Regions from separate parts of the Homo sapiens genome. Here regions 1 and 3 are each linked to region 2. Evidence: promoter capture Hi-C in human tissues and cell types (Jung and others, 2019). All regions are on one chromosome and are shown on one strand. The core of a region is centred on a gene start or on the middle of the fragment in contact, and the rest is flanking DNA. Distances in the headings are between cores, read along the strand shown. Region 1 holds the start of SYNE4 (spectrin repeat containing nuclear envelope family member 4). Region 2 overlaps ZNF146 (zinc finger protein 146). Region 3 holds the start of CLIP3 (CAP-Gly domain containing linker protein 3).

Region 1 (3,871 bases), core at 954-3,453, 210 kb after region 2:
CTGAGCGGCTGCCCCCATGGCTCCAGCGCTACGTGGACAAAGTGTCAAACCTCAGCCTCTTTGGAGGCCTCCCAGCTAACCATGTCCTCGTGAACCAGTATCTGCCTGGGGAGGGCATCATGGTAACCACACACCCTCGGCCCGTGTCCCCCCACTCAGACTTCTGAGCTGTGCTGGGGCAGGGGACTCTGTACCCACCCTCACTCATTAGGCAGCCACATCTCCCAAACAGGCATTCACCTCCCTGTCCCTGGCTTGGGAAGCCCCCCTTTGACCCAGAGGGTGGGGGTTGTGGACTCCTGCCCTGCCCAGCCCTGGTGCCCACTCCCTAGCCCCACGAGGACGGACCACTGTACTACCCGACTGTCAGCACCATCAGCCTGGGCTCCCACACCGTGCTGGACTTCTACGAGCCGCGGCGGCCAGAGGACGATGACCCTACAGAACAGGTGGGCCCCCAGACACTGCCCCAGCTGCTTGTAGGCACTTCAACCTCGCACATCCTCCAAGATGACCTGGTCCCACATGCCTTCGGGGTACTCCTGGCACTCTCCCAGATACCTTCCCTTGTCCCCTCATGGGGTGTACCCACTTCCTCCCAGACACCCAACCCATCTGCTTACAGGGTGTCTGTCCCACATGCCATGATTTTCACAGGCTCCCCGATGCCCCAACCTGCTGAATGGATACCCCTGACTCCCCAGCAGACACTGATATCCTTAGATACCCCACCGCCATTAACTCGGGGGGCCTCACCTCCTCCCAGATGCTCTATCTGCCCCTGCTCAGGGTGCCCCAGACGTCCTGCTACTCCAGGAATGTGATTTGGGGTGCAGGACACCCCCAGATTCTCCTTGACCCCTTGACACAATTTCTCTGAGTGATGCATTTCTAGCACCCCAGTGTTCACAGAAACGCCCCTGAACACGCCGACCCACTCCTTGAGGCTTGCCCTCGAGCCCTGCATGCTCCTGGATGCTCTGACACTCCCTCAGCTGTGCGGTTGTCCTCTAATGTCCTGATGTCCTTGGGAACCCCCACTGCCTCTAACCTCTGCCTCACTCTCTCCTCACCTGGTCCTGGCTTCAGCCATGCTCTCTCAGCCCAGCTCTGCCTGTATTTCCTGGGGACTGCCTATTCCTGGGTCCCAGCCCCAGCCTCAGCCCCTTTGAGATCCCAGCTGCAGCTCCCACCGGCCGCTGACCCTTTGACGCCCCCATCTGCCACCTAGATCCTGCCCCCTCCCGAGGGACGGCAGAGCCCTCGCCCTCCCTTTCCAGCAGCCCCAGCCCAGGCCCCAGCAATTTTCACTCCTGAACCACCAAAGCCTCCATCATTGTGAGCACACTTGCTCTTCAGCTTTTGCCCCTGGGGACTAGCTGATCCCCGGAGGCTACCGACCTCTCGCCCACCCCCACCCCCCGACTTCTTGAGCCCTGCTGACCCTCAACCCGCCCTGCAGCCTCGGCCTCCGCCCCGGCCCACCACCTCGCTACTGCTGGAACCGCGCAGCCTGCTGGTGCTCCGCGGCCCCGCCTACACGCGTCTTCTCCACGGCATCGCCGCCGCCCGCGTAGACGCGCTGGACGCCGCCTCCTCGCCGCCCAATGCGGCAGCCTGCCCGTCGGCGCGGCCGGGAGCCTGCCTGGTGCGCGGCACCCGGGTCTCGCTGACCATCCGCCGCGTGCCCCGCGTGCTGCGCGCCGGCCTCCTGCTGGGCAAGTGACCGCCAGGGCCGGGACCCCTCGGATTCCCAGGTTCCTGCCCCTTTGGGGCTGCTGTGACTCCGCGACCTAGGAACCGTGGGCAAAGGGGGCTCCCCTGGGTTATTTATTTTCCCAATAATTTTGTGTGAGCTACAGAAGACCCCATACCAAATAAACAAAAAAATCTTTCCTTGGTTTTATATTTTTATTTTTTAGGGGCCAGATGCTTGGTTTCCTGAGGGGAGCGGCATCTAGGGTCTTAAATGAATGGGGTAGGCCCTGGAGGTCCGATTTCTGGGTTCCCAGTGGGGCAGAATCCAGGGCTCTTGAGGAGGTGGCGCAGGGGTTCTATCTGGAACCCTCTTGGATGGCGTGGAGTGATGCTGGGAGATTTAGCTACTGGCCTGCTAGGGAGGAAGGAGTTAAGTGACTCTTCTGTCACCTGAGCTGGGCATCAAATGGCCGGGTCCAGGTTCCTCTTGGAAGGGGCGGAGCCAGACCTGTCCTGGGCCTCTCCTGCAGCCTCAGGCCCGGGTGACTCCAGCGGAGGAGCTCTGGGACACCCTTGTCTAGGGAAGAGGTCTTACTGGCTGCCCTCACCTGACTTTGTGTCCCCAGGCCCCCAGCCATGGCCCTGTCCCTGCCTCTGGGCCCTAGACTTGGCTCAGAGCCCCTCAACCACCCACCGGGAGCACCTAGAGAGGCGGACATTGTTGGATGCACCGTCTGCCCCGCGTCCGGAGAGGAGAGCACGAGGTGGGGGCCGGGGCTTTGGAAGCTTGTTCCCAAAAGGGTAGGCGTGGTGGCAGGGGCCATGTGAGGGTAGGAGGTGCCATGGCTGTGATCGCCTGGGGACATAGGAGAGGCCACCAGGGTTGGGGTGACGGTAGGCTGAAAAGTGAGGTGTCGAGACTCACCCAGTCACCGCCCCCTGCCTCCTAGCCCAGAGCAGGCCCAGACCCTGGGACAGGACTCCTTGGGCCCTCCTGAGCACTTCCAGGGTGGGCCAAGGGGCAATGAGCCTGCCGCTCACCCCCCGAGATGGTCAACACCCTCTTCCTACGAGGACCCAGCTGGGGGCAAACACTGTGAGGTGAGCTGAGGTGACCCAGACCCCTTGTGCCAGCCCCACCTCCTCTCTGTCCCCTGGAGTCTGGCCTCCATACTGAGGACCGGGTGATGATTCTGGAAAGGTGTTGGGTGTCTGTAGGGGGAGGGACCTTCTGGAAAAGTGTTTCAATATCTGACCAACTGGGGAGACGTATTTCTTTCTTTCTTTTTTTTTTTGAGATGGAGTCTCTCTGTCACCTAGGCTGGAATGCAGTGGTGAGATCTCTGCTCACTGCAACCTCCGCCTCCCAGGTCCCAGTGATTCTCCTGCCTCAGCCACCCGAGTAGCTGGGATTACAGGCACATGCCACCATACCTGGCTAATTTTTTGTATTTTTAGTAGAGATGGGTTTTCGACTTGTTGGCCAGGCTAGTCTCGAACTCCCGACCTCAGGTGATCCACCCACCTCAGCCTCCCGAAGTGCTGGGATTACAGGCGTGCGTCACCGTGTCCAGCCATATTTCTTTTTTATTAAAAAAAAAAAAGTAGAGATGATGTCTCACCATGTTGCCCAGGCTGGTCTTGAACTCCTGGGCTCAAGTGATCCTCGGGCCTCGGCCTCCCAAAGTGCTGGGATTACAGATGTGAACCACTGCGCCCGGCTGAGAAGCATTTCATCATTGCTCCTGGTGTAGCCCCATTCTTCTTGGGGGGTACCCAGCCCCGCTCCCTGTCCAGACCCCCCAGGCCTCACACATCCAAGTTTCCAGGAGCTTTGAAAACCTGGAGACCTTGAACTAGATATCTGTCCTCAGGCCTGGCTCCACTGGGAAGGCCCCCCCAGTGGGAGCCATCCTGGTGCAGACAGACCCGGAGATGGACTGTGCCACAGAGAAGTTTCCAGAAGCTTACAGAAGAGGGGTGGGGATGGGAGCAGGGGTGATATCTTGATTGGCCCACTGGCCCTGACCTGGCTCCTGTGTTCCCCAGCACCCCATTTCTGGCCTGGAGGTACTAGAGGCTGAGCAGAACAGCCTGCACCTGTGCCTGCTGGGGCTGGGCCGCCGGCTGCAGGACCTGGAGCAAGGCCTGGGGCACTGGGCATTGGCCCAGA
Region 2 (4,210 bases), core at 1,042-3,541:
AAAAAAAGCAGTCCCTTAACCTGAAAACAACAAATGAACCCAACTGTATGTTAATTTAGTAACATAATTCCTCAGAAAAACGATTTCAAATGACTTTAGAACAGAGTTCTTTGACTACATACATCTTTAGTGAGATGCATTTTAAAAGCTGGGCTCAGTGGCTCATGCCTGAAATCCCAGCACTTTGGGAGGCCAAGACGAGTAGGAAGTCAGGAGTTCGAGACCAGCCTGGCCAACATGGTGAAACGCTGTCTCTACTAGAAATACAAAAATTAGCTAGGCGTCATGGTGGGCACCTGTAATCCCAGCTACTCAGGAGGCTGAGGCAGGAGAATCGCTGGAACTGGGGAGGCAGATGTTGCAAGTGAGCCAAGATCACACCACTGCACTCTGCCCTGGGCAAAAGAGTAAGACAACATCTCAAAAAAAAAAAAAAGATGCATTTTAAGAACAAAAATAGTTACATATATTAAAGAAAGAATTTTTTAACATGATACAGTATGTTTATGGTTACTACTAGTATCAGCATTGTTACTGAAACCATTTTCTTTATATTGCAGGATAAAGCAAACAAAATAAGTACTTATAACTTGTTTCATATTTTTTACTATAAAATACAACTAGGAGGCCGGGCGCCGTGGCTCACGCCTGTAATCCCAGCGCTTTGGGAGGCCAAGGTGGGCAGATCACCTGAGGTTAGGAGATCGAGACCATCCTGGCTAACACGGTGAAACCCCATCTCTACTAAAAATACAAAAACTTAGCTGGGCGTGGTGGCATGCACCTGTAGTCCCAGCTACTCGGGAGGCTGAAGCAGGAGAATCACTTGAACCCAGGAGGCGGAGATTGCAGTGAGCTGAGATCGTGCCACTGCACTCCAGCCTGGGCGACAGAGCAAGACTCCGTCTCAAAAATAAAATAAAATTAAATTAAAAAAAAGAACTAGGAGCTAAGAAATTAGGTAAAAATACTATACCATTTAAAGTGAATTAGAAATACGAATATGGACTCATGATTTTTAAAAATACATTAAAAATGTATTTTTTAAATGCTCTGCAATTTAAAATGGCCTTAAAACAATGTTACCCCTGGGCAATGAGCACACCCTTGATCTTGTCTCTAATACCATTCTCCAATAAAAGGAACCAGAGCTCCTTGGAGAAATGGTCAATTCCAAGTCTGGGAGGAAGATACAAGCCTGCAGTGCAGGAAAACTTTCCAAGATCAATGATGTCAGCCAAAATGAGACAAGAATGACCTGAAGGGGTATCCACTGGCATCAAAAAGTGCAGCTGATTCTAGAACACGCTAAATATACACAACTTTAGGATGATGTTTAAGAAAGAAAAAGCCAGGGGGAAAAAAAGATACAATTTGATGTAACAATGAAACAAATGTAAAAGGAATGAAAAGACAAGAGAAATTAAGACTATACTTCCAGGGATCATTTCTAGTTTGTTCCCAGAAGTTTCTCTTAACGTATAGACTACTACATTTTTACACAAAACAAACAAACAACAACAACAAAAAAAACAGAAAATCATCACTTTACAATACCTGTAGAAATTTACTCATCCAGCCAAGAATTATGTATTGGTTTTAAAACCATCCACTAAATGACTGATGGAGAATGAACCAAAGTAAACATAACATTTTGGTCAAAGGGAAGTAACAATCACCAGCCATCTGGTATATCTCTCCTAATGGTATGCAATTTGAAGTATGTAAGATCACCTCTGATGTATTCTGGCCAAAAATCAATCACAATTAGAATTAAAAAAAAAATCATCAGAGATTCTGAATTAGAACCATGCAAAAGTAATCATAGAAATCAAAGAACAAATCTTCCAAAGGAGCGGATAATGATGACTTTCTAAAGATAAACATAACTCAAACACAGAAATCTAACTTCCAGCCTGGGCAACATAGTAAGACTCCATCTCTACAAAAAAAGGTTTAAAAATTAGCAGGTCGTGGTGGCACACACCTGTAGTCCCAACCACTGCGGGGGTGGGGCTGAGGTGGGAGGATCTCTTCAGCCCAGGAGGTGGAGGCTGCAATGAGATGTGATCGCACCAGTGCACCCAGCCTGAGCCAGAGTGAGACCCCATCTCAAAAATCAAAAAACAAACCTAACTTCCTGATTCCAGTTAAAAAAGGAAATATCCACAGAAAATTTTAAGTGGCCAGGCGCAGTGGCTCACGCCTGTAATCCCAGCACTTTGGGAGGCCGAGGTGGGCGGATCACGAGGTCAGGAGATGGAGACCATCCTGGCTAACACGGTGAAATCCCGTCTCTACTAAAAATACAAAAAATTAGCCGGACGTGGTGGTGGGCGCCCGTAGTCCCAGCTACTTGGGAGGCTAAGGCTGGAGAATGGCGTGAACCTGGGAGGTGAAGCTTGCAGTGAGCCAAGATAGCACCACTGCACTCCAGCCTGGGCGACAAACCGAGACTCTGTCCCCCCCTCCACCAAAAAAAAAGAAAATTTTAAGTAAAAAAATTAAAATATAGAAATATTAGGCCGGGCGCAGTGGCTCACGCCTGTAATGCCAGGACTTTGGGAGGCTGAGGCAGGTGGATCACAAGGTCAGGAGATCCAGACCATCCTGGCTAACGCGGTGAAACCCCATCTCTACTAAAAATACAAAAACAAAATTAGCCAGGCGTGGTGGCTGGCACCTGTAGTCCCAGCTACTCAGGAGGCTGAGGCGGGAGAATGGCATGAACCAGGGAGGCAGAGCCTGCAGTGAGCCGAGATCAGGCCACTGCACTGCAGCCTGGGCGACAGTGAGACTCCATCAAAAAAAAAAAAGAAATATTAATAACAAAAGTGCATCTACATATCTTATTCTTTCAGAAATTCCTACCAGACACAGGACTATAATATTTTCTGAGGAAGCATTTTTTTTGCAGCTAGTAATAAAAAGTACTAGTATTTAACATTAATCAAGTACTTACTACACACTGGGGACTATTCTTAGAACTTTACATGTATTAACTTCTGGAGCTACACAACCACCCTTTGAATCAAATATTGCTATTATTTCTATACTATGAAATGAGCAACTGAGGCCCAAGGTTTAAGTACCTACCTGAGGTCCCCAAGGTAAAAAGTGGCAGAGGAAGGAGTTAACACAGGAAGTCTGGCTCCTTGGCCTATGTCTTCCTTTAATTTAAAAAAAAAAAAAAAAAAATTAGCTCATGCCTGTAATCCCAGTACTTTGGGAGGCTGAGGCAGGCAGATCACATGAGGTCAGGAGTTCGAGACCAGCCTGGTCACCATGGTGAAACCCCGTCTCTACTAAAAATACAAAGCCTTTGCCCTGTCTATTCCAGTACCCCCACCCCAACAGCCAGTTTTATTATTTCGTATGTATCTTTTGAATTTTTTTTTTTTTTTTTGAGATGGAGTTTCACTCTCGTTGCCCAGGTTGGAGTGCAATGGCGCAATCTCTGTTCACTGCAACCTCCGCCTCCCGGGTTCAAGCAATTATCTTGCCTCAGCCTCCCAAGTAGCTGGGATTAACAGGCATGTGCCGCCACGCCTGGCTAATTTTGTATTTTTAGTAGAGACGGGGTTTCTCCATGTTGGTCACGCTGGTCTCAAACTCCTGACCTCAGGTGATCCGCCTGCGTTGGCCTCCCAAAGTGCTGGGATTATAAATACATATTCTTATTACCCCTTTTCTTATTCCAAATGCATCGTGTATCATACTCTACATTCTGCACCTTGCTTTCTCTCAGTTAACAATACATTTTGAAGTTATTTCTGTCTCAGTATATAAAGAGCTTCCTCCTCATTCTTTTGTACAGCTATGTATTATTTTGTTGTATCGATGTACACCAATCTCCCACTGATGGGCATGAACTGTTTTTCTTTTCTTTCTTCTCTCTCTCTCCTTTCTTTCTTTCTTAAGACAGGGTCGGCCAGGCACCGTGGTTCATGCCTGTAATCCTAGCACTTTGGGAAGCCGAGGCGGGCCGATCACTTGAGGTCAAGAGTTCAAGACCAGCCTGGCCAACATGGTAAAACCCTGTCTCTACTAAAAATACAAAAAAAGTAGCCGGGTGTGGTGGCAGGCAACTAATCCCAGCTACTCGGGAGGCTGAGCCAAGAGAATCGCTTGAACCTGGGGGGCAGAGGTTGCAGGGAGCAGAGATTGGGCCACTGCACTCTAGACTGGGCAAGAGAGAGAGACTCCATCT
Region 3 (4,067 bases), core at 644-3,143, 190 kb after region 2:
AAGGGAGGAAGGGGTGCAGTTTTAGAGCAGAGAAGGTGAAAAGACACCAACAAGTAAGATCCTAAAACAGGGCAGAGAGGGAGCCACGTAGGGATTTGGAGGAAGAGCATTCCGGGCATCACAAAGAGCCGTTGCAGGCCAGGCACGGTGGCTCACGCCTGTCGTCCCAGCACTTTGGGAAGCTGAGGCAGGCAGATAACCTAAGGTCAGGAGTTTGAGACCAGCCTGGCCAACATGGCGAAACCCCGTCCCTACTAAAAATACAAAAATTAGCTGGGTGTGGTGGCACAGGCCTGTAATCCCAGCTACTCGGGAGGCTGAGGCAGGAGAATCACTTGAACCTGGAAGACAGAGGTTGCAGTGAGCAGAGATCATGCCACTCCACTCCAGCCTGGGGAACAGTGAGACTGCCATCTCAAAAAAAAAAAAAAAAAAGAGCCAGTGCAAAGGTCCTGGGGTAGGGAGAAGCAAGGAGGCCAGTGTGGCTGGGGTGGAGTGAACAAAAGAGGGTGAGAGGAGGTGAGTGCAGAGATGATGGGGCAGGTTCACATAGGCCCTTGTGGGCCATGGCTGAGAGCCTTGGCTTCTACCTGGAGTGAGGTGCAGCAGGCAGACCCCTCTGAGGGAAAGAGGGCTCCAAAGTGACAGGTGTTCATGGGTCCCTGTGGCTGCATGTTGGAGGAGGACGGGGACAGCAGGTAAGAGGCTGCTGCCGTAGTGCTGGTGGCAGAAGAAGAAGGATGGACCAAGATGAGGGCCCAGGGTAGCGGTGGGGAGAGTGAGATCCTGGAAATCTTTTGGAGATGGAGCTACTGGACCTGTGCATTAGAAGGATGAGGTGTTCAAGGCTGTCACCCAGCCCCATCCAGGCTGGGATGATTTGAGGCAGAGCAGGCTACAGCTCCAGGTGGGAAGCCAAGCCATGACAATGGAGCCAGGACCCTGGGCTGGCTTCAGGAGGCCTCCGTGGGGAAGATACAGGTTCTGAGAGAGTTGGAGGGGTCAATCGGCAGATCTGTTTCCCAGACACTGCTACAGGCATGTAGCATGGTGATTAAGAATCAAAGCTGGGCATGGTGACTCGTGCCTGTAATCTCAGCGCTTTGGGTGGCAGGGGCAGGAGGATCCCTTGAGGTCAGGAGTTCAAGACCAGCCTGGGCAACATGGCAAAACCCTGTCTCAAAAAAAATTCTCCAGACATGGTGGCATGCACGTGTGGTCTCGGCTACTCGGGAGGTTGAGGTGGGAGGATGGCTTGAGCCCAGAAGTTTGACGCTGCAGTGAGCCAAGATCACAACACTGCACAGTAGCCTGGGTGACAGAGTGAGACCCTGTCTAGGAAATAATAAAAATAAAAATCAGACTTTACAGACTGTCTGGTTTCAAATGTTCGCTCCATCACCTACTCATGTACTTTTGGGCAAGCTGCTTAACCTCTGGGCCCCAGTGTGTGAGCCTCGCATTATGATGGTAAGGATGAGATGATCATGATAGGAGTCTCTAGGAAATCACCCCTCTGAGGCACCCATTATGAATGGTGAGCTTGGAGAAGGGGTCCGGTCTAGGGTCCTAGAGAGAGGGTCCCCTAGAGGGTCCCCATCGTCACCACGCCCCAAGACCACTGCCCTCACCGGCCTGGTTTGCAGGCGTGGGGGAAGGGGATGGAGAAGATCTGTGTCCGCTCTCTCAGCCCTCTCTTTTGCCGTTGTATCTGCTCATCTCGCTCCTTTCCGTAGCCATCTCTTCCTCTCCCAGTGCCCGGAGGCTCTCCCCTTTCAGTCGCCGCCTCTGGCCCCTCCATCAATGCGAGCGCCTCCCGGTCCCTCCTCCTGGTCCCTCCTCCCCCGCCGCCGGTAGGGGGGCAGCAGGCGCATGCGCAGTCGCGCCCCTCCCTCTCCGCCCCCACCCCCTGTCGGCGTCTGGGCCTCGTCCCCTTCTCTCTGTCTCCCTTGCCTCCCCCATCACGTCCCCTGACACCGACACCCCATTGCTCCCACAGTCTCCCCAGTCTCCACTTTGGTCCCCAGCGCTGTCTGCCCGAGGTAAGATGGGGAGGGGGCGGCCCGCGGAGAAGGGGAGGGGCGAAGCATCCTGAATCCCGAGATAAACAAACCCGGGGAGGGGGCAGCCGCGACTGAGGGGCCTGACGCGGGAGGAGAAGAATGGGGGGCTGGGCCTGGGGGAGGTGGCAGGCGCTGGGCGCACACACCGGGGCCCTCTATGGGTAACGGGGGTCCCTATGGTTGCCCAAGATCCAGTTGCGCGGAGGCCACCCGGGGCCCTGGAAGCTCCTAGGGGCTTGGACCCTGGAGCCTGCCGGGCACCCTCTCCAGCTGACCTCTGCCTCCAGGATTTGCCTGAAGGCTGCCCCCAACTCTGCACCCGCCCCCCGAGGGCCACCGAGGACCATGACTAAGACAGATCCTGCCCCGATGGCCCCGCCACCCCGAGGAGAGGAGGAAGAAGAGGAGGAGGAGGATGAACCCGTCCCCGAGGCCCCCAGCCCCACCCAGGAGCGCCGGCAGAAGCCTGTTGTGCACCCCTCGGCACCTGCCCCCCTCCCTAAGGACTACGGTAACCACTGTCCCCACCCTGGAATCTGGCCTGGAGCGTTGGGTGGCCGGGGAGGGTGGGCTGTGCTCTGCTGGTGGTGATGGTGGGAGAATTCTGGGGAATTTGAAGGTGGTCCAGAGGAATCTTGGCTGCAGAGCACCCCTCGTTAATTCATTCATTCACCCATTGGAGAATGGAATTGTAATACTCCTAGTCTTTGACTCATGACACATCATTCCATCATTTAGTCATTCAACAATCATTTTTTGAAAGCGGCTGTGGACCTGGCTTTATGCTAGGGGCTGGGGCCACAGCAGGGGGCAAGAGAGACCCAGTCTTTGCCCTGAGACAACTCACAGGCCTCAGTAACAGCCACACAAATAGGTATTAAACCATAATGTAATTTTTCACATTTAGGTTTATATGCAAGAAAGAAAAATATAATGTAATATAAATATGTAATTACAAGACATTATGAAAATTGTATTTACCATAAACAAGCTGCTGCAAGAGTTTTTTAAGACATTGTTTCCCTGAGGAGGTTACAGTTGAGAAGACTGGAGGGTGAGTTGGGGTTAACTAAGAGAAGGGTCAGGGGAAAGGGCTCCCAGGAGAGGTAACCGCTGGGTAAAGGATCTGAGGTAGGAGGGTATGGAGCTGAGAGGGCGGCCTCTTGGAGAAACTGAAAGTGTCTAATCATTGACCGAGCGATATTTATCGAGTGCTGCTACTCTGTGACAAGCCTTATGCTGGGTGCCGGAGATTTAATCCTAAGTGATCCAGGCATGATCCTCCCTTGCAGGAGAGAAGGAGAGACTAAACAAGTGAACAGATAAATAAATCAGAAATCAGATAAATTCAGATTGGAGCAAGTGCTATGAAAGAAAGAAAAGGTGGGCTGGGCATGGTGTCTCACGCCTGTAATCCCAGCACTTTGGGAGGCTGAGGCCAGCGGATCACCTGAGGTCAGGAGTTTGAGACCAGCCATGGCCAACATGGTGAAACCCCATCTCTACTAAAAATACAAAAATTGGCTGGGTATAGTGGCATATGTCTGTAATCCCAGCCACTCGGGAGGCTGAGGCAGTAGAATCGCTTGAACCTGGGAGGCAGAGGTTGCCCAAGATCGAGCCACTACACTCCAGCCTGAGTGACAGAGTAAGACTGTCTCAAAAAAAAAAAAAAAAAAGAAAAAAAAAAAAAAGAAAAGAAAAAAAGAAAAAAGAAAAAGAAATTAAAGGTGGAGATACGATAATGACTAGGGGGCAGCTACCTGCAGGGGTAGTCAGGGCTGCTCTTTCTGAGTAGGTAACATTTAGTTTGGGACCCAGAGCATGGGGAGGAATCAGCCATAAGAGAGCTGGAAAAAGAGTGTTCCAGGCAGACAGCAGCAAGTGCAAAGGCCCTGAGGCAGAATTGAACTTGGAACAGAAAGATCCTGGAGCTGCATTCAGGGAATGATCGAGGTTGAGGTGAGAGGTTGGCATAGGCCAGATCTGGAAGGGCCTTCAAGG

Evidence for each region. The method cuts DNA at HindIII sites, captures the fragments that hold promoters and counts their contacts. A contact is called where the count stands out against the background at its distance.
Region 1: the fragment with the promoter of SYNE4 here is called in contact with a fragment that was not itself captured in region 2 in 1 of the 25 tissues and cell types used here (dorsolateral prefrontal cortex).
Region 3: the fragment with the promoter of CLIP3 here is called in contact with a fragment that was not itself captured in region 2 in 3 of the 25 tissues and cell types used here (dorsolateral prefrontal cortex, spleen and stomach).

The regions. Positions count from the first base shown.
Region 1 is chr19:36,007,145-36,011,015 of GRCh38, reverse strand. SYNE4 (spectrin repeat containing nuclear envelope family member 4) reads left to right here and starts at 2,203. Exons shown (of 8, transcript NM_001039876.3): 1 at 2,203-2,462; 2 at 2,649-2,799; 3 at 3,748-3,871. The coding sequence starts at 2,335. It overlaps ALKBH6 (alkB homolog 6), which reads left to right. Exons shown (of 7, transcript NM_032878.5): 5 at 1-122; 6 at 333-449; 7 at 1,463-1,896. The coding sequence ends at 1,726. RefSeq lists enhancers at 1,950-2,489, 2,490-3,031. The HindIII fragment of the contact is 19,934 bases long and covers 1-3,074 here.
Region 2 is chr19:36,217,082-36,221,291 of GRCh38, reverse strand. ZNF146 (zinc finger protein 146) reads right to left here. Exons shown (of 4, transcript NM_007145.3): 2 at 3,097-3,170. It also overlaps a transcript of ZNF565 not described here. Among named protein-coding and RNA genes, the nearest start is that of ZNF146, 4.1 kb to the right of the region's middle. The HindIII fragment of the contact is 7,261 bases long and covers 1-4,210 here.
Region 3 is chr19:36,030,699-36,034,765 of GRCh38, reverse strand. It overlaps CLIP3 (CAP-Gly domain containing linker protein 3), which reads left to right and starts at 1,893. Exons shown (of 14, transcript NM_015526.3): 1 at 1,893-2,042; 2 at 2,351-2,574. The coding sequence starts at 2,409. The region is part of intron 3 of LOC101927572 (a long non-coding RNA gene); the gene reads right to left. The HindIII fragment of the contact is 12,641 bases long and covers 1-4,067 here.